Regions from separate parts of the Homo sapiens genome. Here all the other regions are linked to region 3. The links are contacts of gene promoters, found by promoter capture Hi-C in blood cells and fetal thymus (Javierre and others, 2016). All regions are on one chromosome and are shown on one strand. The core of a region is centred on a gene start or on the middle of the fragment in contact, and the rest is flanking DNA. Distances in the headings are between cores, read along the strand shown. Region 1 overlaps SH3RF3 (SH3 domain containing ring finger 3). Region 2 has its middle 11 kb from the start of SH3RF3. Region 3 holds the start of EDAR (ectodysplasin A receptor).

Region 1 (4,292 bases), core at 1,693-4,192, 150 kb before region 3:
CAGCAACAACAGCAACTGTCCTTTCTTTTACAGCTAAACTCCCAAGCCTTTTGTTTTTCCCACATGCAAAACTGAAACCCCACTACTTTCTCCCTACAGATTTTTTAGAAATTTCTATCTGAGAGGCCAGGCGAAGTGGCTGACACCTGTAATCCCAGCACTTTGGGAGGCCAAGGCGGGCGGATCACGAGGTCAGGAGTTCGAGGCCAGCCTGGCCAATACGGTGAAACCCCCTCTCTACTAAAAATATTAAAAAATTAGCCGGGCGTTAGCCGGGCGTGGTGGTGCTCGCCTATAGTCCCAGCCACTTGGGAGGCTGAGGCAGAAGAATAGCTTGAACCCTGGAGGCGGAGGTAGCAGTGAGTCGAGATCGTGCCACTGCACTCCAGCTAGGGTAACAGAGCAAGACTGTCTCAAAAAAAAAGAAATTTTGATCTGCGAAATAAATGTATGTGTCTGCCATTGCATTTATGGGTAAAGGCACTCCACACAGGCAACACCTCCAGAAGTCGGCCTGGCCTGAGATTTAGCTGGCCCAGCCTCAGGAGTACTTTCCTCAACCCACATGGGTGAGCACTCCAAGTGTTTAGTAATCATCTGAAGGATTCCTTGACCCTTCAAATCAAACAGCAACAGTGGCAGGCAAAGCTTGGAGGATTAACCGATTAGTCTTTGAACGCAAAAACAACGGCTGATCAGGACGGGTGGTGTCTAATGAGATTAGTTAACCTGCAACCATTTACTGAAATGTGCCTAAGCCTCCCTCATCTTTCCTCTTTCTCTCCAGTATCTCTGGGTTCATCCTAGAGCAACAAATGGAATGCAGTCACCCATGAATGTATCTTAGATCCTAAATGATAAATCCAAATAATTCTCACCTAAGGTGGTGTGCTTTGATGGCCAACAAAAAATTAAAAGAATCTTCAGAAAACGTGCTGGACACTCCTGACCTCCATCGTCCTAGCCACAGCAGCAAGTTCTCTTATCTCCTGAGCATGTGGCACTTCCAGAGCATCTGCTCCAGAACTAGCAAACAGCAGACAGCTTCTCTGAAAGGTGCTGCCCGCAACACCAAGCTGCTCTCAGAAAGCCTCCAGCTGTGGGATGGACCTGCCTCATCATCTTCTTTCCCCACCACAAAGTCAGAAAGATTCAGAAAGAAGAAGTGCAAAGCCTTCATTTGGCAAATCTAGACTATGGAAGAATAAACAAAAAGAGGTGAGAACCCACTGCAAACTCACTAAGCCCCAAATCACACCAATACCACTTTCCTCATTAGAAATTCCTGCCAGATAAACAGAGAATAAAAAGATATAGACACATGTTTTCCTCTGCAGCATATCTGGTCACCTAACTAAATGGAAAAAAAATTACATTTCATTATAAATAGAGACCAATGCAATCGCTGTCCCTGGAGCCCCCAGTGTCCACTGTAGTGTATGGTACACAGCAGGTACTTAAATATCTGTGCAGTGAAGCCAGAGAGAGAAAAGCATCAGCATCCCATTCCTTGAACCAGGGTAAAGATGGCTCCCTGCGAACTCCCTGATTCTCTGGTGAGGTCTTGCTCTCAGAGAGCCCGGCTGCAGCACATTTACAGGTGCCCCGGTGCAAGCATGCTTCTAAATTCTCTCACACCTCCTCCTGATCCGAATTCCTGTGGTCAATCCTAATTCATTTAAACTCACATAAATTCATGTGAGCCTTATGCACACATTACATTAAGTGGAAATGCAAATACCATCATATCTTCGTTTGCATCAGTTAACAATGTAAACACGTGCTACCCAAGAGCGCAGTGACTCTTCTTGGGCCTCCTTCAGGTCTCCCAAAGGAGAGCTGCAGCTCTAAATGGCCTCCAAGGATGTGCAGAGCCATCAAGGGCCAGGAGAGCCTAAAGAAAGCAGAATACAAATCATGCTGCAACTTTATACACTTTTTCATTCCAACTTCACTCAATGGGAAAAGGGAGGCTCACATTATGGGGTGCCTGCATGATCTGTAAACCATTCACTGTTGCCAATACCTTCAGCTCGACACCCTGTTCTTTTAAAGTTAATTAAAATTCCAATAGGATACCCATCAAGCATGCATTTCACATTCATCAAATCTGAAGATCTCCCAAGCAAGGCAAATCTGATAAAAATTGACCTTGGCCTCTTCAAGTGGTGCTATCAAGAGCATTTCCCCCAGCAAATGCTTGCTGATGTGTGTGTTTTTTTTTAATGCACCTCAAAAAAGATCATGTTAACTGTAAAAGATAGAGATTAAATACAGATCAAACGGAAATGCACACTAGAAACAATTGCAAAACTGAGCCCCGAATCTGTCATGCTCCAGCAAGCAGGCAGGCTCTCAAAAGCCAGGAGGAAGAAACAATTGGATAGAATTCTGCTCAGCTCCATCACAGCAAGCAGCCTGATTCTAGGCAGCTGTAGACAAGCTATTGTGTCCTACGGATGACGGAGGTGGGCTCGTTTTCAGGATAGCCTGCCAACAGGCTGGATCAGCAACTGAGCAGGATTATTCTCCCCTGCTGTTTTTTTAAAGCAGATTATGGCTTAGACGTTTTTTCCCTTTTAATGAAGTTTGTAAGAATCATGAACACTGCCTCTGATAATAAAGATAAACTTGGAGCAAATTTAAAAAGGAAACCAACAGACTCAAGCAACTACTCCGCATAGATGCCCAGTAATGCTTGACGATCCAGTTTCCACAACATGGACTGACTGAATCTAGAGGCAAAGCATGATATCAGACTCACAACACACACACACCCCCCCATGCACATCCACATCCACACACGTACACGCACACACCCTTAACTTAGAATACTAAATACCACAAATCCACCAGCAGCAAAGCAGGCACTCTGAGGTGTGCCTCACGCGTGATAAGAGACTTGAAGATTTTCGTATTAGGAACAGGCACTGAAACGACAGCCAATCACGTGTGCCAGGCACTGCACATACGTTATCCTATTTATCTAAGAAGCAGATAGCATCCCTAATTCACTGATAACAAGTCTCAGGAAAGCTAGCCCATTTGCCCCGGGGCAGATGGTGAGGAAGTGTGGAAGCCAAGATTAAAACCACCTTCAGTGGGATTCCCACCACCCCTTCCCCTCCTTCCACGTGTCCTGGGGGAGGTGGCAGGCCACCGCCTCAGGAGAAAAGGCAGTCCTGTGTGTGGGCTTCAGACACCAGCCTGGGAGGCAACACTGTCCCCAGGGGTGTAACAAGAAACATGGGGTTGGGGCTGGGTCACCGTTTGCTCACCGACTTGGAGACTAAGTACAAGGGGAAGAAACCCTGCTGTCTCCACTACTGGGTGTTGTCATGGGACTGTGACACCTGAAGCCACGGCCTCTATTTGAGACCTACTGGGTAGGGATGAGAATGAAGCCAACAGAGGAGCAGAGCAGAAGGGCAGACCAAGTATGGATCAGTGAGGAGAGCACAGAGCTGCTGGGTTAGCCAGCTAGGCCACTCAGACTAATGTCCTGTTCATGTCACTTACATATTAATAGAGCTGCCTGTCACCTGCATCCAAAGCCACAACAGATTTGATGCTGTTTCCTGTGGGCCACACTGCTCTGTGCACTCTGTGGGTTTACAAGACAGCAGCCTTGCATAGAAGAGCATCTGCAGCCGTGAGGCACGGTGAATGGAAGGGGTGGCCACTGCTTATGTTTAGAATCGTGCTACCAACGAGCTGAGCCTGTGGTAGAGTAAGAGGACTCTTCTAACCAAGGCCAAAGTTAATCTTCCAAAAAACACCCTCATTAACTGTGTGCCGCTCAGCAAGGAAATTCTGGAGCCTTAATTTCCGTACCTGTGTAACTAGCAACCTCACCAAGTTGCAGTAAGGACCAGATGAGCCACACTTAAAACACCGCTCAACCCTTAGCCCTCAGCAGAGGCTTCATTCACACCTGGTCCCACTGGGTGCTCAATAAATAATAATTTAGATTATTCACTCGCTGGCTGCAAACTGCTGTTTCCACACTCAGGGGCCTTCTGAACAGGACTTTGCTGTAACTCAGCTGTCATATCAACCACTCGTTTGGTCTCTTGTGAGCTGTCTGGTTTTTGGTGAGGCCCCCAAGTGCCAGCCTTTTCCTCTGGAGTCCTTATTATATCCAAGACCGAACCACGACAACATCCCAACCATCCAGCCAAACTGGACAGAAGGGCGGAGGAACAGAATCCTAACTCAATCACTTCCTAGCTCTCTGACTTGCCCAAATATCAATCTCTCTGGGCCTCAAAATAATAATTATACCAGCCACT
Region 2 (4,413 bases), core at 1,735-4,234, 130 kb before region 3:
TTTTTTTTTTTTTTTTTTTTGAGACGGAGTTTCGCTCTTTTTGCCCAGGCTGGAGTGCAATGGCGCGATCTCGGCTCACCACATGGAGGCCTTTTTGATGGACGTGAACTGGAAGGAAAGGTCACCTAGAGCACAAGGTGCCCACTCATCCAAGAAGAAGTGCAGGTTGGTCTGATACCCTGGGGGTGGAGGGCGGTCATGGGAAGGCCAACCTGGCTGAGCACTTGGCTGAGGCTGGAAGTCCGTCTCTACCTTACATCCTTGGGGACCACAGCTGAGTATGCGAGGCTAATGTGGCATATTCACCTGTGAGGAAGCCCTTGGGGTCCAGGTGGCCTGAGGGGAGGGGTTGACCCCTGGAAGAGTCCCTGGTCATCCACCAAAGCCCTGGTTGTTAAACAGAGTGAATCCAGGCCCCTGGCAGGGTAAGCCAGGCCAGCTGGGCCTATACTGGGAGGCCCTCCCCCTCCTCTTACAAATGAGTTGGGCCAGGTGACTCCACCCTACAGGTAGCCTGCAGTGAGCAGGGATGCCATGAGGAACCCAGTGGGTAGTCACATCCTGAAGTTCCCACTCTGCATGGCCTTGGAGCCAGCCCCTTCAGGCTGCATAGTTCTTGGACAATTCAGAGGGAGGACCCAAGACAAATATCTGGACTTCTCTTAATCTGATCAGGTGAAGGCCTGAATGATTACTTGGAACATTAAGAACATTTTGAATATGAATTTGTTTAAATTCATGGGATACATCATTCAATTACATTTCTTTTGGTCCATAAAAATCTTCATAAACAATGGCAATTTTTTCAACTTAAAGCAATGTACATTTTACTCTGATGAGGTATCTCCTTGTTACCAACTGCAGTTTCCATAGCACTGTGACGAAAATATTTCAAAATCTTTTTCAGTATTAAAAATAATCCTGCAGTTGTCTCTGTTTTCTTTTGCAGTCTTCAAAAGAATTATAATAAATTTTCTTCTCCAATTTGGAGACATAATATACTTTATTTTAATTTGGCTTAAGATCTTAGAAAATACTTAAACTTGTATGCATGGTACAGTTATTAAGCTATAGCACTGCATTGATAATACATTTAATGCAGTAAAGAAAATCCCTTATTTAAATTACAGTCATGAGCGAATGAATGAAAATTGAATATAAAAAAAGCTTCCAGCATAATCACAGCATAATTGACATTGAATAATATTTAATATCTGAATTCTTGTCTTGGCAGAAGTATATCCTAAATCATCCAAGGGGAGATTGTCAATTATAAATAATACTCATGTGTATTTTAGAAAAATGTGAAATCCTTTATGAAAGATATAGAGCTAAAGTAGAATAACCAACCTCGGGGGAAGAGCAATGGGACTGTTTCACGGACAGGATGATGGTGGTCCCTTCCTTGTGAGAGAGATATGGATTGTGAATGTGCCAAGAGTTGTGTCCATTCTGCTCTGTAGTTAAATACATAGACCTTTCTAGAATAAAATGCATATTGAACATTTCAGTGGCCATTCTGTCCAGGAACTCCATGCCTGACAAAGTGTCTTAGCATTTCCCCAGAGCTCCTACCAAGCTCTCAGATATTTCTTGAAAAGCCAGGTCAGAGCCTCATTGCACCTAGGACGATGCCTTCCAAGAAAAGCCTGGTGGATGCTGCAAAGGCAAGTCCGTTATAGAATCGCAGAGTCAAATTTAAAACTTCCCTCATTCAACCATCCTGGTTTCACACCACCACCCCTGCAGCCAGGTGGTCACCACCTCTGCCTAGACATTGCCAGTGATGGAGAACTGCCAGCCTCACCCCCTCAAATGACAGTCTGGTTTATTATGGGATCCCACGACTTAGAAAGTCCTTCCACATACCAGGCATGTGTCCATCTTTCAGAAACTTTTATCTATTTTCCCTTCTCTAAGCAACTGGGAATGAAATCTGGTCCCTTGTCCACATGACTCTCCAAATATTTGAAATCATGACTTATTGAGGTATTGTGAGCCTCAGAGAGGGCACCAGTTGAGGTATTGCTCCTCACAAGAGGGCATTAGCTGCAGGGGTCTGCCCACAGACCCTGACCCAAAAAACAGATGAATAAAACGTACACTGACACGCAGATATTCTGTTTTGCCAGTCCAGCTGAGTGGCCGGCTGCGGTGGACAAACCTCTCTTGGTGTGTAGGCAGTCGGACACTCAGCAGGACTGGCAAAACAGTGTATCTGTGTGTCAGTGTACATTTCATTCATCCGTCGTTTGGGTCAGGGTCTGCAGGCAGACCCCCGCAGCTAATGCCCTCTTTTTGTTTGTTTGCTCTTTGCCAGAAAATCATCTGGTGGGCCTGGGATAGCTGTGTTGTCGTGCCTGTTCTTACACACCCAGAACAGGAGCAGCATTTATATGGCTTTGTCACAGGATGTCAGAGTGAAATGTTGCAGTTGTCTTTTGTGGAGTAAAGAACTACCCCAAAATGTGGTAGTTGAAAATGATGGTGCTGTTTATTTTGCTCATGCATCTGCCATTTGGGCAGGACTCAGTAGAAACAGCTTATCTCTCTTCCACTCAGCCCAAAGGCTGGATATGAGGGTCCGCAGAAGGCCTTTGTGCCTTGCAGTCAGTGCTGGCTGATCTTCACCAGACGCCATTATGTGGCCTTTCCATGTTAACTGAGCACCAGGGTGGCGCAACCCTGGAGAGTGAGCCAGGTCTCATTTTCACAATCTTGCCTCAGAGGGCAGGCAGTGGCACTTCTTCAGCATTCTGTTCCTCAAGGCAGTTACAAGAGCACACCCAGAGAAAGGATCAGAGAAATAGACTCCACTTTCTGATGAGTGTGGGCAAGGTTTTAGAAGAATACACAGGATCGAAAATATTACTGTAGCCTTGCTTTTTGAAAAATGCTGGGTGGAAGCAGCCAAGATGGCCGAATAGGAACAGCTCCCGTCTACAGCTCCCAACGTGAGCGACGCAGAAGACGGGTGATTTCTGCATTTCCATCTGAGGTACCGGGTTCATCTCACTAGGGAGTGCCAGACAGTGGGCGCAGGACAGTGCGTGCAGCGCACCGTGCGCGAGCTGAAGCAGGGCGAGGCATTGCCTCCCTCGGGAAGCGCAAGGGGTCAAGGAGTTCCCTTTCCTAGTCAAAGAAGGGGGTGACAAACGGCACCTGGAAAATTGGGTCACTCCCACCCTAATACTGCACTTTTCCGACGGGCTTAAAAAACGGCACACCAGGAGATTATATCCTGCACCTAGCTCGGAGGGTCCTACGCCCATGGAGTCTCGCTGATTGCTAGCACAGCTGTCTGAGATCAAACTGCAAGGCGGCAGTGAGGCTGCGGGAGGGGCACCCACCATTGCCCAGGCTTGCTTAGGTAAACCAAGCAGCCAGGAAGCTCCAACTGGGTGGAGCCCACCACAGCTCAAGGAGGCCTGCCTGCCTCTGTAGGCTCCACCTCTGGGGGCAGGGCACAAACAAACAAAAAGACAGCAGTAACCTCTGCAGACTTAAATGTCCCTGTCTGACAGCTTTGAAGAGAGCAGTGGTTCTCCCAGCATGCAGCTGGAGATCTGAGAACGGGCAGACTGCCTCTTCAAGTGGGTCCCTGACCCCTGATCCCTGAGCAGCCTAACTGGGAGGGACCCCCCAGTAGGGGCAGACTGACACCTCACACGGCCGGGTACTCCTCTGAGACAAAACTTCCAGACGAACAATCAGACAGCAGCATTCGAGGTTCATGAAAAGCTGCTGTTCTGCAGCCACCGCTGCTGTTACCCAGGCAAACAGGGTCTGGAGTGGACCTCTAGCAAACTCCAACAGACCTGCAGCTGAGGTTCCTGTCTGTTAAAAGGAAAACTAACAAACAGAAAAGACATCCACACCAAAAACCCATCTGTACATCACCATCATCAAAGACCAAAAGTAGATAAAACCACAAAGATGGGGAAAAAACAGAGCAGAAAAACTGGAAACTCTGAAAAGCAGAGCACCTCTCCTCCTCCAAAGGAACGCAGTTCCTCACCAGCAATGGAACAAAGCTGGACGGAGAATGACTTTGACGAGTTGAGAGAAGAAGGCTTCAGATGATCAAACTACTCTGAGCTACAGAAGGAAATTCAAACCAAAGGCAAAGAAGTTGAAAACTTTGAAAAAAATTTAGACAAATGTATAACTAGAATAACCAATACAGAGAAGTGCTTAAAGGAGCTGATGGAGCTGAAAGCCAAGGCTCTAGAACTACGTGAAGAATGCAGAAGCCTCAGGAGCCGATGTGATCAACTGGAAGAAAGGGTATCAGTGATGGAAGATGAAATGAATGAAATGAAGTGAGAAGGGAAGTTTAGAGAAAAAAGAATAAAAAGAAACGAACAAAGCCTCCAAGAAATATGGAACTATGTGAAAAGACCAAATCTACGT
Region 3 (4,449 bases), core at 1,925-4,424:
GCTTATCACGGCCAAGAAGTACTTTTCATCTCCATTTCATAACTTGATTACTCTATGCCTCCCCAAACAGAGCATAAGCTTCTTGAGGCCAGCGATTTTGACTGTTGTTCTCATTGTGATCTACCCAGCAACTGGAACAGTACCGGCACGTAGAAGACGTGACGTGCATTTGCTGCATGAATAAACACATGAACATGATGGCATAGGAGAATGCTACTTTGATGGGGTACATGGGTATCAAGGATTTTCTTTCTGCTCACACAACATGAGATTTGTAATTAAGACACAGATTTAAGGTGAGTCCGGTGGCTCACACCTGTAGTCCCAGCACTTTGGGAGGCTGAGGCAGGAGGATCACTTGAAGTCAGGAGTTCGAGACCAGCCTGGCCAACATGGTGAAACTCTGTCTCTACTAAAAATACAAAAATTAGATGGGAGCAGTGGCACATGTCTGTAATCCCAGCTCCTCGGGAGGCTGAGAATCGCTTAAACCTGGGAGGCAGAGGTTCCAGTGGGCCAAGATCACGCTACTGCACTCCAGTCTGGGCGAGAGAGCAAGACTCTGTCTCACCAAAAAAATAAAAGACACAAATTTAAAATCACGATGACCAGAATATGGCTCTGTTTCACTCACTGGAAATTATCTGATCTGCAAGATAATTCTTACCAACCCCTGAGTGTTTTTTACAGGGATGGGAGTCCATTGACTCTCTAAAATCACTTGCGAAGTTTTGTTGCTGCGGAGCTGAGAGCTGGGGCCAGCCTGCCTGTTGTGCCCCTCCATAAGACTCCTGGCCATGCATTTGAGCACACCTCATGAAGGGGGCAGGTGGCTGGCCGGGCTGTTATGTGTAGCAAGCATGTGTTCTAAATTACAATTCATTTGTTCTAAATTACATTCATCATTTCTAAATTTGTTCTAAATTTAGAACACAGCCCCAGGAGACCCCCTTCACCCAACCATGTTCTGCAGTCTTGATTCATTTTCTTACTTAAAAAATGCTATTGATAACCTGTTGCTATTTCTGCCTCAGTCTCTTAGGAAATGTATAAAACAGAAAATCACATATCTTCAAAGCTCTGGAGCTTTACATGATGAAGATAAGCAATGATTTCTCATTTCATTCTTTCTCTTAATCAACTGAATTAATTATATACTCATTTTCATTTGGATATGATGACTAGGCAGACTTCAAGTATAACCATCCATAACCTTGCTTAATGCCATGATGTTTGGATTTTTTTCAAAGAGAGGAAAAAACTCCCTTGGCTTCTATTACAGCATCCATATTTTGTGCCATTTTAATTTTTTCTTGTGTCTTTTTTCTCTCTCTTTGGGAAATATCAGTATCATTCCTTTTGGTAAATTTTAAATCACCACTTAATTTCCAATAGAAAAAATGTTTTAGTTACACCTAAAATAATCCCAAACCTCAAACACACTGTGAGCACACCAGAAAGTAAAAATTATATGGAGTAGAACAGATTAGCCCAGAATACCTCCCATTCATTTTCCCAGGTTCCTAATTTAATAATTTCAGTGACTTTAATTTATCACAGACCCTCAGTCTGAACTCGGCATGAGCAGGGTAGACAACCAAACCTGAAAATTCAAGTTAAAATTCTTGTTTGGGAGCTTATATTATCTAGATTAATCATCCACAAGGATCAAGTCAGCTAAGTAACTCTGGTTCAGCTTAATCTCTGTGGAGGCAGAATTAGTCCTTTACAGTCTAGGTCCTTGCCCCAGCCCCATACATTTCTGTCTGCTTTTTTCTTTTCTTTTCTTTTCTGTTTTGAGACAGATTCTCGCTCTGTTGCCCAGGCTGGAGTGCAGTGGCACAATCTCGGCTCACTGCAACTTCCATCTCCTGGGTTCGAACAATTCTCCTGCTTTAGCCTCCACACATGCCACCACCGGCTAATTTTTGTATATTTTTTTTTTTTTTTTTTTTTGAGACGGAGTCTCGCTCTGTCACCCAGGCCGGACTGCGGACTGCAGTGGCGCAATCTCGGCTCACTGCAAGCTCCGCTTCCCGGGTTCACGCCATTCTCCTGCCTCAGCCTCCCGAGTAGCTGGGACTACAGGCGCCCGCCACCACGCCCGGCTAATTTTTTGTATTTTTAGTAGAGACGGGGTTTCACCTTGTTAGCCAGGATGGTCTCGATCTCCTGACCTCATGATCCACCCGCCTCGGCCTCCCAAAGTGCTGGGATTACAGGCGTGAGCCACCGCGCCCGGCCTAATTTTTGTATTTTTAGTAGGGACGGAGTTTCACCATGTTGGCCAGGCTGATCCCAAACTCCTGACCTCAAGTGATCTGCCCGCCTCAGCCTCCAAAGTGCTGGGGTTACAGGTGTGAGCCACGGAGCCCAGACTGTTTCTTTCTTAAGCTCTTACTTTCTCATGTGTGAGTTACCTTGTAGGTTTCCAAGGCAGAGGGGACAAGATGGAAAAGGAGAACACAGAAATCTAGCCTGGAGGAGCTGCTCTGTTCCTGTATTTATCTGTGTAGGTGTGAATGAGGGAGAAAATGACAAGAGAATGACATTATTTTAAGGCTGTTTTCCCCCCCCCAATCATTTACTTTTTGAGAAATAATTGCCCAATACTGAAAGGTATGTCCTTTCAAAATGTTGATGTTTCAAATGGCTTCCTAATTACCTAGTTATACGGGGGGTGTGTATGGTTATCTGAAGTTACATGGGTATACACTGGTGGTGTGAGGTGTCCAGAGAGAGGAAAGGAAGAGCAGTCCTGGTGGCTCAAACCCTGAGGGATGTGCGGGGGATGGGTGAGAATGTGAACAGACATGTTGGAAGCTGAATCCGTGCAGTGGCACCCATGCCTGTAGCCATCTCAGTGGGGGGTCCTTCTACGAACAAGCTTTGATTAATGATATTTTAATGCTAGTTTAGCTTTTTAGCACTCCCACGCCTAAAGGCTCTGATAGAAGCAAGGCCCCCACCCCTGCAAAAAAAAAAATCCATGATTTTTACGCATTCCAACAGATCTCTTAAGGGGCAGACGGCCGGAGAGCCAGGTGTGCCAGGGACCTATGGCAGCAGGGCTGAACGTGCCCGCTCCAGCCTCTCCAGTGCTGGGAGAGACCTCTAGATGGTGCAGGTGAGTTTGCAATGAGGGAAAGCCCCTCGGCAAGGACTGAGTTTCCAAACTTGCAGACAGGGCAGGGAGCGGTCAAGGAAGAGTTCCCGGGAAGCCCTTTAAACGGAAAGGAAGCGGGGCTAGTGTCAGAGAGGTGTGCCAGGTCCCAGGCAGCCCTGCTGGCCCCTAAGGACATAGAGTACCTGCTTCTGAGAGGGCTGCCACGGTGGCCACCTGTGAAGCCTGTCACCCAGAACTGGATGGTACCTGACTTTCTTCATAGACCCATCTTCTGCTGGGACTGAAGCTGACCTCCAACAGAAGCCAGGTAAGCCCTGGTCCTTTCCTCTGGTTTTCTAAACTCTTCAGCTGTGGCCGAGACGGAGGTGTCATGGGCTGGGAGAGAGGCTGGGTGCATTTTTGAAATGCATGTCATTTTTGGGTTGCGTTTGAACAAGCTTTACCGATTGCAGTATGTCTGCGCTACCAGTTCTAAGACCTGAGATTGTTCCTTTGTTTTAGAAAAACATCAGAAACCCTGTTTTGCTGTTGGTTGCACATTTGGTTAGGGAGACAAATTCTGTGTGTGCTTCACAGGCTTTAAGATTTGGGCTACTGAAGCAACGGGTTCCTCCAGGGAGCGTGAAAAGTATGTTTCTCAGGTTTGCCCCTGTGCCCGGCTCACTGGGGAAGGCAGGCGCGGCAGGGACTCTAGCTGGGCTCTGTACCTGCCTCCAACTCTGCGTACCCGCTGTGACCTAAGAGACCTTCCAAGTGGGGTTTCCAGTCGTGTCTGAGACCCCCCATATCCTGGCCTCTGTGTTGGTGGCGGGGGAGCGGGGAGAGGGAGAGAAGGAGGGGAGTGGGTACCTATTTGTGATGATTGAGGTTTTCATTTCCAGCCAAGAGGTTCCTCTCAACACTCTGACAGACCGTGGGGTGGGTTGGGCTCCTAGACAGGAGTCGGCTCTGATTCAGTCGGCTCTGATTCCCAGCCTCCTGCAGCAGCCAAGCTTTGAGATGTCAGCTCAGGGAGAAGCGGGTGGCTGGGCAGGGAGGTCAGCAGGCGAGGTTCCCACTGGGTTTCCCTGCCCATGTTGTGCTGGGTCAGCAACAAGAGGGACAGTTAAAATCAACAAGCAGGGCAGATGCCGGTCAGTGGGCAATCCCACACAGCCAGGGGTACACGCATGTGAGGAGACGTACGGAGAGACAGGAGCACCACCGTCCTCTTCCCCAGTCCCCAGGCCACTGCTCTGTGGCTCTCAAGTGGCATTTTTGAGACACTTTCTAAGCAAGAGTGAAAGTGTAACAAAGAAGTGAAGAGCCATAATAGACTGAAG

The links. Contacts are between HindIII fragments. The CHiCAGO score rates a contact against its expected background, and 5 or more counts as called.
Region 1: a contact is called between a fragment that was not itself captured here and the fragment with the promoter of EDAR in region 3, in 3 of 17 cell types (non-activated CD4 T cells, naive CD8 T cells and total CD4 T cells). The highest score is 8.1, in non-activated CD4 T cells.
Region 2: a contact is called between a fragment that was not itself captured here and the fragment with the promoter of EDAR in region 3, in 2 of 17 cell types (naive CD8 T cells and non-activated CD4 T cells). The highest score is 5.4, in naive CD8 T cells.

What each region holds. Positions count from the first base shown.
Region 1 is chr2:109,134,159-109,138,450 of GRCh38, reverse strand. The region is part of intron 1 of SH3RF3 (SH3 domain containing ring finger 3); the gene reads right to left. It also overlaps a transcript of RANBP2 not described here. Among named protein-coding and RNA genes, the nearest start is that of MIR4265, 5.3 kb to the left of the region's middle. RefSeq lists an enhancer at 3,682-3,751. The HindIII fragment of the contact is 4,584 bases long and covers 651-4,292 here.
Region 2 is chr2:109,116,275-109,120,687 of GRCh38, reverse strand. It overlaps a transcript of RANBP2 not described here. Among named protein-coding and RNA genes, the nearest start is that of SH3RF3, 11 kb to the left of the region's middle. The HindIII fragment of the contact is 3,629 bases long and covers 1,170-4,413 here.
Region 3 is chr2:108,987,945-108,992,393 of GRCh38, reverse strand. It overlaps EDAR (ectodysplasin A receptor), which reads left to right and starts at 3,174. Exons shown (of 12, transcript NM_022336.4): 1 at 3,174-3,434. It also overlaps a transcript of RANBP2 not described here. RefSeq lists an enhancer at 4,200-4,449. The HindIII fragment of the contact is 677 bases long and covers 2,890-3,566 here.